2 separate regions of the Homo sapiens genome follow, and region 1 is linked to region 2. Evidence: promoter capture Hi-C in 16 types of primary human blood cells and fetal thymus (Javierre and others, 2016). All regions are on one chromosome and are shown on one strand. Each heading gives the region's core, a stretch centred on a gene start or on the middle of the fragment in contact. The rest is flanking DNA. Distances are from core to core; before and after follow the strand shown. Region 1 holds the start of C16orf46 (chromosome 16 open reading frame 46). Region 2 holds the start of MPHOSPH6 (M-phase phosphoprotein 6).

Evidence for each region. The method cuts DNA at HindIII sites, captures the fragments that hold promoters and counts their contacts. A CHiCAGO score of 5 or more calls a contact.
Region 1: a contact is called between the fragment with the promoter of C16orf46 here and the fragment with the promoter of MPHOSPH6 in region 2, in 2 of 17 cell types (monocytes and neutrophils). The highest score is 6.7, in monocytes.

What each region holds. Positions count from the first base shown.
Region 1 is chr16:81,074,155-81,080,101 of GRCh38, forward strand. It overlaps C16orf46 (chromosome 16 open reading frame 46), which reads right to left and starts at 3,084. Exons shown (of 4, transcript NM_152337.3): 1 at 2,982-3,084. C16orf46-AS1 (C16orf46 antisense RNA 1) reads left to right here. Exons shown (of 2, transcript XR_007065137.1): 2 at 2,270-2,444. RefSeq lists enhancers at 2,616-2,755, 2,847-3,507, 3,346-3,395, 3,508-4,166. The HindIII fragment of the contact is 28,578 bases long and covers 1-4,044 here.
Region 2 is chr16:82,166,362-82,171,917 of GRCh38, forward strand. It overlaps MPHOSPH6 (M-phase phosphoprotein 6), which reads right to left and starts at 3,863. Exons shown (of 5, transcript NM_005792.2): 1 at 3,764-3,863. The coding sequence starts at 3,814. RefSeq lists an enhancer at 3,720-3,864, a cis regulatory region at 3,792 and a silencer at 3,839-3,998. The HindIII fragment of the contact is 21,548 bases long and covers 1-5,556 here.

The DNA of each region.
Region 1 (5,947 bases), core at 1,834-4,333, 1.1 Mb before region 2:
AACATCTGAAGACAGCTATCATTTTGTCAGATACAAATCTCAAGTTCCTCATCATCTTAAGAATGCAAAATTACCTGTCTCTTAAAATGTGGTGCCTGGAACTGAAAGCAATACCTCAAAAGTGGTCTGACTAGAAGTGTCTGCTTTGAAATCTGACTCCTTTTGATCTGAAATCTACATCTATTAATTAAACAAAGTTACTATATTTTTTTAAAAGTGTAACTCAATCTTTTTTCTTTCTTTTTTTTTTAGACAGAGTCTCGCTCTGTTGCCAGGCTGGAGTACAGTGGTATGATCTCAGCTCCCTGCAACCTCTGCCTCTTGGGTTCATGAGATTCTCCTGCCTCAGCCTCCTGAGTAGCTGGGACTACAGATGCGCGCCATCACGCCCAGCTAATTTTTGTATTTTTAGTAGAGACAGGGTTTCACCATGTTGGCTAGGATGGTCTCGATCTCTTGACCTCGTGATCCGCCCGCCTCAGCCTCCCAAAGTGTTGGGATTACAGGCATGAGCCACCACACCCAACCCTATAACTCAATCTTGATTAACACTGAGCTTGAGGTGAACTACAACTTCCAGATTTTTTTTTTTTTCACATGAATGGCTAAAAATTCCTGTCTTCTTTACTCTGTAACCATGCTGTTGATTTTCTTTTCTTTTTCTTTATTCTTTTTGTTTTACTTAGATGTAGACTCCAAATGCATCAGATCCTTGTAAAATTTCCCCTTTTGTTTTTGGACCATTATTAAACCTGCGTAGACAGTTCGCAACCTAACTCTGACTTCCCACAGTTTGACCATTCCTTCTTGCTTGATGACTCCATTAATTTGATGAGGATGCCTTCTGTATCTCCATCTACATCACGGATAAAGACGTTGAGAAGGATGGGTAAAGGATAATGCCCTCTGGGTATCCCTTTCACTTGGACATTTGCTAATTATTCAACTAGCTGCAAATTCACCTTCATCTTACTCCCTATACAATGACCTGGCCTATGTTTCTAAATCTTTTCTACAGGAATCCAGATCCATCCATTTAGATAGTCTTTTTTTTTAGAGGAACCTACCAAGAGTTATAGAAGTTGATGTCTCTCTCTCTCTCTCTTTTTTTTTTAACACCTATTGCCTAGATCAGGGATAAAGAATACATTCTGGCCAAGCACGGTAGCTCACACCAATAATCCCAGCACTTTGGGAGGCCGAGGCCGGTGGATCACTTGATGTCAGGAGTTCAAGACCAGGCTGGCCAATATGATGAAACCCCATCTTTACCGAAAATACAAAAATTAGCCAGGCATGGTGGCTCACGCCTGTAGTCCCAGCCACTTGGAAGGCAGAGGCAGGAGAATCGCTTGAACCCGAGAGGCAGAGGTTGCAGTAAGCCGAGATTGCACCACTACACTCCAACCTGGGTAACAGGGTGAGACTGTCTCAAAACAAAACAAAGAAAATTCTGAATTGTCAACTCCAAACTAGTGGCTACCTAGAGTGTTGTATTGAGAAGGATCTTATGACCTGACTATAGCAGGAAAAATTTCTGGGGTTGATTAATTATGTCTGCCAGAAAATAGAGTGTGCCACATGTTTGCCAGTCTGTCTATATAGTCAGATTACAAATATCTTACCGTAGCTTCCTATACCTGGTTGACAGATTCCTAATCCATTAAGGGCAGGGGAATGTTGAAGGACCAGGAGAAACCAAGGCCCAGGGTATTAAGTCAAACGCAAGCTGTTTATGTCAAAAGCAGATAGATGGTAATCTCTCAAAACTCCTTATCACCTTGCCTCAACTTCTCATTGGCTCTCCACTGTGCCACACACCCTCATCTTCCTACAAGCTATAGGTTTAAAGGAATCTTAAATTCCAACCAGGGAAAGATGAGTTTCTGGCAGCCTCATTTGGAATTTGAATGAACGTTCCTGTGGGTCGGCTCCTTAACAACCTATGCTGAATGAAGGAATAATCATTAGAAATATTGTTAGCCATGGCAGAAGTTAAGTTTCTTAATACAGGACCAATCTTCACTTACATGAACCAGTTAAATAGGTCCTGAAGACTGACCTGGGCATCCTGATCATTTGTGACACAGTTTCTACAGGAAAATGAGTTGGGAGTCGCATTTAGAAACACACTGGAAGGAGCTGAACCTTTGTCTGAAAGTTAAGCACCCGCGCCACCCAACTTGCACAATTTGTTCATATTTCCAAGAGTATAAATTTTATCCTCCTTGTTAATTATATGTGCCTTCTGCTTATTATATGCCTACAGGTCACAGGAACCTCAAGTATTTCACAGAATGATGCCAAGGAGCGCAGTTTCTACACCATCCCTCCCGATCAGACCACATCTATTCCAATCTCAGTCTCAAACTCTTCCCCTTTTTCAACTCACATTAATGAATTCACTAAGTACCTAGCACTGAGAATAAAAAGCTAAAGCAGCATCCGTCTTCTCTACTCTCACACAGCTTACAGTCCACAGCAAAGCGCAAGTCATCAAACACACGCGCTCCACCTGCCACCCCTAAAGCCCAGGCGCATCACGCTCGGCTCCACCTCTTCATCTAGCCCCGCCCCTTCCTGCAGGCCACACCCCTTTCTCTATCAGGCTCCTCCCTTTATGCCATAAGCCTTTTTTCCTCATCTAGCTCTTCCCCTTCCTCCGCCAGTTCCTACCGTGCCACAAAGACGCCTGCCCTTCTTTCAAACTATCCCATTCAGAAAAGCGTTCTGGATTGCCCGTTCGAATTCCTCCCCGTCCTCCGTCTACCCACCCTTAAAGGGTTCCGCTCCCAACGGATCCTCCTCAGGCCCCGCCCCTCCCCAGACCCCGCCCGCTCTGGGGAAGCCCCGGCACATAGTGCCTCTGCCTTTCGCTCCCTCTCGCTTCCTTTCGAACGAGGCAGGGACTCTCGCTCTGTCGCCTTTGGAGTGGTCCCGGGCCTTGCCCCAGGGGTGGAGAAATGGCCGCTCACACCTACCTGTGGGGCCAAGCGGATGGAAGGCCCCGAGACAGCTAGTCCCGGCCTACTGGCAAGAGCTACTCAGGTCGCTGCCGGATGGGCCGTTGCCTTGGGTTACGACCACGCTGGGGGCGGGACCGCGGCGGAAGTGACGTAGCCCAACAAAGCCTAGCACTGGCGAGGCGGTTCGTGGCATCTCCTATCCGCTCCGGGCGCTGCCGCCGGAAGGGCCAGCGACGGAGGGTCTCAGATGGCGGGGCTTGAGGCCCACCCGGGCTCTCGGGTCGGCGAGTCCCGTTGGGGAGCCCTTGTGCCTGCTAGGATATTTAGCAGATGCCAGGCGGCCAGAAACGTCCTCACTTTTCTCCCTCGGCCCTCTGGGGAACCGCCGTGAGCGTTTCCCACGGACACAAACTTAACAGGCCCAGAACGTCCAGGGAGGACGCGTTGTGAGCCTCAAAGAGCCCACTTACGTGACCGACAGCACCAGGCCGACGGGCACTCGCTGAACTGCTGGCCCGGAGCAGCACAGCTCTTAAGTGGGCAGTGGCATCTTTTATACAAATAAAGGAAGGTGGCCCCACGTCCCTAAAACAACAGCTTGCTGAAGAGAGATCGCAAAGCATCCCCCACTCCAGCTCGGGTCTGACTCCAAAGCCCTTCTGCTTTAGAAAGTGTGACTATTTCTGCTGTAGAAAACCGGTATCTAGGCCAGGCGCGGTGGCTCACGCCTGTAATCCCAGCACTTGGGAGGCCGAGGTGGGTGTATCACCTGAGATCAGGAGTTCGAAACTAGCCTGGTCAACATGGCGAAACCGTGTCTCTACTAAAAATACAAAAATTCGCCGGGTGTGGTGGCGGGCGCCTGTAATCTCAGCTATTTGGGAAACTGAGGCAGGAGACTGGCTCGAACCCGGGTGGCGGAGGTTGCAGTGAGCTGTGATGGCACCACTGCACTCCAGCCTGGAGAGCAAAACTCAAGTCTCAAAAAAAATTTTGGTATCTAAGTTCTCTAGCACTGTGATTGCTCCAATGAGACGGATTCAGCTATAATTCTATTCCAACTTTTTTCATACGTGTAAGCTTAGGTACCTTGTTCACATAAATAGGAAGATGCAAATAAAAGGGGTTTTATTGTATCTCAAGCTAGTAAGTATTAACCAAAAACATTTAAATGTTTTATCAGTTGACAATTTGTTTTGGTCTTCCTTCAGATCTATTGAAAACAGCTGGGCACCGTGGCTCACACCTGGAATCCCAGCTGAGGCAGGAGGCTCCCTTGAGCCCAGGAGTTGAAGGTTGCAGTAAGCTATGATTGTGTCACTGCACTCCAGCCTGGGAAACAGTGCAAGACCTTGCATATTAGAAAAAAGTTTCTGGGAAGTATACCAAAAGTCTTAACTAAGATTTGCTAAATGAATATTAATTAAATAACCTAACGGCAAGTACATGGGGAAGTTGGAGGATCTAGAACCTGACTTCCTTCACACTAACTATTCCTGCATTTAGCAGGTAAAAGCCCGATAGCATGATTGAGTGGAAACATGAAGGGACAAGGGTTTGGCTAGTTATGTTTATAAAAAGTCAACATAGGAATTGAGTCAAGATACCAGAAACTCTACTTATAGTAAGATCCCACTTTGCAAAAACGGAGAATGGAAGCGTACAGAACTGTACCTTCTCCTCAATTTTGCTGTGACTGTAAACTTCCTCTAACACATAAAATGTATTTTAAAGAAAAAAAGCCAGGAGTGGTGGCTTGCGTCTGTAATACCAGTTACTCACAGGAGAGGCTAAGGCAGGAGAATCACTTGAGACCAGCTTGGGAAGTGTCACAAGACCCCATATCTATTTTTTAAAATTAAAGGGAGATGGGTGGGTGCGGTGGCTCACACCTGTAATCCCAGCACTTTGGGAGGCTGAGGCGGGTCAATCACTTGAGGTCAGAAGTTCAAGACCAGCCCAGCCAACATGGCGAAACCCCATTTCAAAACCCTAATACAAAAATTAGCCGGGTGTGGTGATGGACGCCTGTAATCCCAGCTACTCAGGAGGCTGAGGTGGGAGAATCACCTGAACCCGTGAGGTGGAGGTTGCAGTGAGCCAAGATCGCACCATTGCACTCCAGCCTGGGCGGCAGGAAAGGCCTGTTGCAGGGAAGAAAGAGGAATTTAATCCTGGTGTAAAGAAAGGCACCTCTTTAAGTATGGGAAGGAAGGTGTGATTTGGTCTGAAAGAACACAGTAAAAAAGACACGCTTGTAGTTAGCATAATTTTTTAAACTGTGCTCTTTTTAGTAGCCCCAGAAAAACTATAGAAATTGGAAAAATTCAGCAGCTGGGCGCGGTGGCTCACGCCTGTAATCCCAGCACTTTGGGAGGCCGAGGCGGATGGATCACGAGGTCAGGAGATCGAGACCATCCTGGCTAACTCAGTGAAAGGCCGTCTCTACTAAAAATGCAAAAAATTAGCCGGGCGAGGTGGCAGGCGCCTGTAGTCCCAGCTACTCGGGAGGCTGAGGCAGGAGAATGGCGTGAACCCGGGAGGCGGAGCTTGCAGTGAGCCGAGATCGCGCCACTGCACTCCAGCCTGGGCGACAGAGCCAGACTCCATCTCAAAAAAAAAAAAAAAAAAAAAAAAAGAAAAAGAAAAGAAATTGAAAAAATTCAGAAATTCTGATTTGCTGAGGAACTGATCTGAATGGCCAGCCTCATTTTCATAGTAGTATGCCCATGCAGAGCTCCCTAGTGGTTTATTAAAACCTAAAACTGGCCAGGCGCGGTGGCTCACACCTGTAATCCCAGCACTTTGGGAGGCCGAGGCGGGTGGATCATCTGAGGTCAGGAGTTTGAGACCAGCCTGGCCAACATGTCGAAACCCCATCTTTACTAAAAATACAAAAATTAGCTGGGCATGGTCGTGGTCCGGGTGCCTGTATTCCCAGCTACCCTGGAGGCTGAGGCAGGAGAATTGCCTGAATCCGG
Region 2 (5,556 bases), core at 2,613-5,112:
TTGCGACTTAACACGTTTCCATTTTCTGCCTGGCAAAATATTTACTCTTTTAAGCCTACAGTGTGTGTCCTTTGGTAAGACTTCCTGGTTGGCATTTGGCTTGGCTCTTCCTAGGTCTGCTCCTATAAAGAAGCACATTCTCAAGACAGCCTCATCAACACTGGAATATTGTTCACCATCGTGCTGCTTTGGTGTCTCCCAGGACTACGATTCTGAATAGACCATGACTCTTGTTCATCTTGTATCATTGGTACTTAGGCGGCACCCCTGGTACACAAAAGAGCTCACTCAGTGAAAGTTCTCTGAATGGAAATGAACCTAGACCTATCTTATTTTTCCAGATTCTCTTTCTGGGATGGTTTTCTTTAAATGCAGATGCCTCATTTCATCACTAATATTCCTCGTGGTAAAACTCATCAATACTGCCCAACTGCCCTTTTTTCTCCCATTTAGTCATGTACCTATTCTTTTGGTATACAACAGCCATATACATATGTTCTGTACACATAGAAAGGACAGAACTCCCTGTGAATATGAATCAAGCACCTCCAGACTTAGGTACAAGTTCGATTCTCCTACTCTAGAGCATTTCAGAACACATTCCAAAACTAGTGAGGACTCAGAGCAGGCATCAGCATAATACAGTCCTCAGGCTAGATGTCTGTTGTCGTCGATAAAGTTTTACTGGTACACAACCATGGTCATTCGGTCTTGAACAACACTGGCAGAGCTGAGTAGTTGTAACAGAGACTGTCTGGCTCATAAGACCAAAATATTTATCATATGGTCCTTTACAGAAAGTTTGCCAAGCCCTGTTCTGAGAGTCTAACAGTGCCAAAATCACAAATAAGCACCCTCTACAACCATTCCATACTGGAAGACCTTCCATCCACATCCTTCTTTTTCTTCTTCCCATTAGGATCACCCTGCAATGGCTGACCAAGTCAGAGGCATTGAAGTGAGTCAGGATTAAATCCTCAACCCTCTTATACTTGCCTAAAAAGTGGTCCCCAACCTTTTTGGCACCAGGGATGGGCTTCCTGGAAGACAATTTTTCCACGGGTGGTGGAGAGGGGAAGGGTAGATGGTTTAGGGATGATTCAAGTGCATTACATTTATTGTGCACTTTGTTTCTATTATTATATTATAATATGTCATGAAATAATTATACAACTCACCACAATGAAGAATCAGTGGAAGACCTGAGCTTGTTTTCCTGAAACTAGACAGTCCCATCTGGGTGTGATGGGAGACAATGACAGATCATCAGGCATTAGATTCTCGTAAGTAGAGCGCAAGGTAGATCCCTCATATGCACAGTTCACAGTAGGGTTTCTGATCCTAGGAGAATCTAGGATTCTGCCACTGATCTGACAGGAGGCGGAGCTCAGGTGGTAATGCAAGCTATGGGGAACAGCTGTAAATACAGATGAAGTTTCGCTCGCTTGCCTGCCCGCTGCTCACTTCCTGCTGTGCAGCCTGTTCCTTACAGGTCATGGACTGGTGCTGGTCCATGGCCTGGCGGTTGGGGACCCATGCTATATAGGACTTAGCTCTGGTTAAGGCACCCTAAGTGCAGCTACTCCATGCCTTCTCACAGTATACTCTGTTCTATCAGTATAGACAGTGTCTCCTGCTATCTTGCCAGTAAGTTTTTTCTTATCAATGACCAAAGCTGCTAAACCAAATAGAGAATGTGGGTGATCTTTTTCCTTCTCCTTTGCTTCCAACGTCCAGTTGAGTCTCCCCATTTGGTGGGGGTGGACATTTAAGTTAATTTCTTTCTTCTTAGTTGCAACTCGGATATTTAGTTTGAGCCTGAGTCACCCAGTACATCATCTGGCTTATTCCAAGAGCTAAAACAACTGCTAAAATCTTTCCAATATCTGCTTGGCCAATTCACTCCACTTCTCTGAAGTTAATGTTATTACCAACCATAAAATCAAACTCTGTTCAGTAAAGATTCAAATTTTGCTAATATGCATGAAAGTGCTTGACAAACTCTAAGTTATGCTGCAATTTGTCCTCCACCCTCATTCACCCATTCATCCCTAACTCCATCCTAGCTCAACTCCATTCAAATCTTGCCCATATAATGTTTACTCTCTCTCTTTTTTTTTTTTTTTTGAGACAGGGTCTCCCTGTGTCACCAAGGCTGGAGTGCAGTGGCGCCATCTCAGCTCACTGCAGCCTTGATCTCCCAAGCTCAAGTGATCCTCCCACCTCAGCCTCCCAAGTAGCTGGGACTAAAGGTGCGTGCCACTAGGCCTGGCTAATATTTTGTATTTTTTGTAGAGATGGGGTTTCACCATGTTGCCCAGGATGGTCTCAAACACCTGGGCTTAAGCGATTTGTCTACCTCAGCCTCTCAAAGTGCTGGGACTACAGGCATGAGCCACTGCGAATGGCCTATCTTTCAAAACATTATGAATGCTTCCTTCCCTCTTTTGGAAATTCCACCTCTTTAAACATGACATGTAACAGTTTGCTACTCTCTAGAAGTAGTGCTTAGTGACAGGCATCACAGAGTACAGAGTAGTAATAAAGAGCCAGGGTTCTGGAGCCAGACTGCCTGAATTCCCGTCCTGTCTACACTACTTATTAGCTGTGTAACTTTGGGTAAATTACTTATTTCTGTTTCAGTTGCCTTAGCTGTAAGAAGAGAGTTACTGCCTGTAGTCACCTCAAAGTGTCATTATGTGAATTGCATAGGTTAATATACGCAAACCACTTCAATCATTGTCTAGTACTATAAATATTTGCCATTTTCTTGATACTGTTCCCCGTTTCAATAGCTTTCCATTGCTCACAAAATAAAGGAAAATATCTTTAATCTGGCCTCAAATTCCCTGCACGTTGTGACCATTGCCTACTCTGCAACCCCATTTCTTAGTACTTGCCTTCCAGACATACTGAATTGTCTCTAATTCTTGGAAATTTCCATGGTTTTCTTTTTCTTTCTTGCCTCTCAGACTTCTGAACTCAGTTTCTCCTAGTTTAGGACGCTGTGCCTTCCACCCTCCCAGTAACCTAGAGACTACCCTGCGAGACTCACCCTCTTCTCCCTGGAAGAAGAGGGAGTTCTGCCAGCAGACTGTCTTTGGACTTGGACTGAGTACTTCTCTGGGTCTCCAGCCTACTGGCCCACCCTGCAGATTTTAGACTTGCATCTCCACAGTCGTGTGATCCAGTTTTAAAAATACCCCCTCTCTCCATACACATATATACACATATACATCTTGTTGATTCTGTTTCTCTGAAGAACTCTACTAAAAGAAGTATTATCAAAATTAAAAAGGAGCTTGAACTCATGTAGCCTAATGCTCTTCTTTTTAAAGATGAGGAAAAGAGATATTCAGAGAAAGAAGTGAATTTACCTAAATTACCCAGCTAAGGAGTTACACTTCCCATATATCATATTTATTGCATATATAAGTAAGCAACAACTTCTCGAGAAGCTCGGTGAGTCCCCAAGGTCCCCAGCGCTTCTACCCTCACTGCACTGGGTAAGCTGTACCCTGACTGCTTCTGTGTACTCAAGCTCCCATCCGCCCGCGGGCCTCCTGAGAGAGTCGGCCTAATTCGTAAGCTGGTTCCCAGTAAACAGTGCAGAGCAGGCGCTAAGTGAATGAATGAGCACGAGAGCTGGAAGCCCTCTGAGGCCTCTCTGGTGTCCCTTGTCCGCCCGCCGCCTCGGCCCCGGCCAGGTTGGAAGGACCGGGTGCCCCTACCGCCCGGAGTGGCGCTCTCAGCGTCCCCGCACCTTCATGCGCAGTAGATTCTTGGACAACCTTGTCTTTCGCTCGGCCGCCATGGTAGCTTCCGCCCAGCGCCGCACTCCGGCCGCGAGCCTCACCGCACATGCGCGGAGCCGCGTGCGCAGCTGCGTCCCTCGCGTAGTGCGCGCCGCCCCGCCCCGCCCCTCCCCTGTGTCTTGCGCGCGGGCGCGGCCACTCAGCGGGCGCTCTGCTGACTGAGAGGCTCGGGTAAGCTCGCGGGGTGGCGGGCGCGGGGATGAGCGCGGCAGACCGCAAAAAAGCCGAAGTCAGAGGACGACCCAGAACTTGGCTTCCCCGAGCCGCGGGTCGCCTTCCCGGGACGTCGGCCTGGCCCCCTCGGAGGCCCATCCTCCCTCGGGGACTCCCTTCCTCAGGGACCCCCTCCACACTCAGTAGTCCTCGCCAGCCTCAGAGAGGTTTCCGCCACGCCTGCCACCCGCCTGGGCCGTGTTACCCACGTGTTTTGTCTTCATAACGTGGGTGGCGGGCTCCCTTTGTTCTGGGTCGCTTTGCAGGGTCCAGGTCGTTTTCTCTTCACCAGGACCCCACGAGTTGCTGCTTTCCTCACAGCAGCCCGGAGTCCCGGGGGAGCGCGGCGGGGGCCGCCCCAGGCAGGCTGGCTTCATTCCCAGGCTGCTGCCGATGCGTGTCTGGCCGAGTGATCTCTGCTAAACAGAAGAATCTCAAGAAATGGCAAGGGATGGAGGCAGGGATGGGTGCCAAAGACACATGAATGAGAACAAAGCCTGGTTTTGATCCAAAGAATTGAAAAGACCATAGCGAGGGGCAACATAGGGAGACCCCACCTCTACAAAAAAAAAAAAAAAAAAAAAAAAAAAAAAAATATATATATATATATATATATATATACACAAAAAATATACAAAATATACATACAAAAAATATATACAAAATATACAAAAAATGTACAAAAGATACAACAAAAATAGCTGGGTGTGGTGGCACGGATCTGTGGTCTCCACTACTTGGGAGGCTGAGGCTGGAGAATCACTGGAACCCGGGACGTCGAGGCTGCAGTGAGCTGACATCCCGCCACTGGACTCCAGTCTGGGCTACAGAGTGAGGCTTTGTCTCAAAAACAAAACAACAAAACAAAAAAGAATTTAAAAAACCACTGAAAATAGGGTAGCGTTCCTACCCTGGTGTTTAATGCTCTGGGTACCACCTAAACACGTTTTCGAAAACCATTCCCAGGTCCGACGCTTTGGAACACCCTCAAGCTAATAGCATCTCGGCTGATACCATGAGTTCTACGTCAGATTGTTGACCTGGTCACCTTAGGGCTAATTAGTTCACTTAATCCCCATAAGAACCGGAAAGAAGGTATTGTCATCGTGTTGTTAAGGATTCTGAGACACAGAGTGGGTAACGCACTTGGTGTTCACACAGCTAATCCATGTTAGAGCTGAAATTCAAACACCGATTTGGATGTTAAAAGCCCTTTAGGTTTTCCCAGGGGTAAATAAAATCATTGTAATGTACCAAGTGGCTACAGAATCTCATTCACTTGTGACTGTGTGTGAGATGCCGGGGGTATAATAGCGTGTAAAAACACATATCCCCACCTTTCCTGAAGCTGATATTCTGGACGTAAGTAAGTGGCGACTGCTATGAAAGAGAGAAAACAGTGATGTGACAGAGTAACGCTTAGGGTTACTTTAGACCAGGTGGTTTGGAACGGCCCTTGTCAGATGATGGTGCTAAGGCTTGAAAGTTGAGAAAAACGTGTTTTATGAAGAGTTGGAGGTAGAGTGTG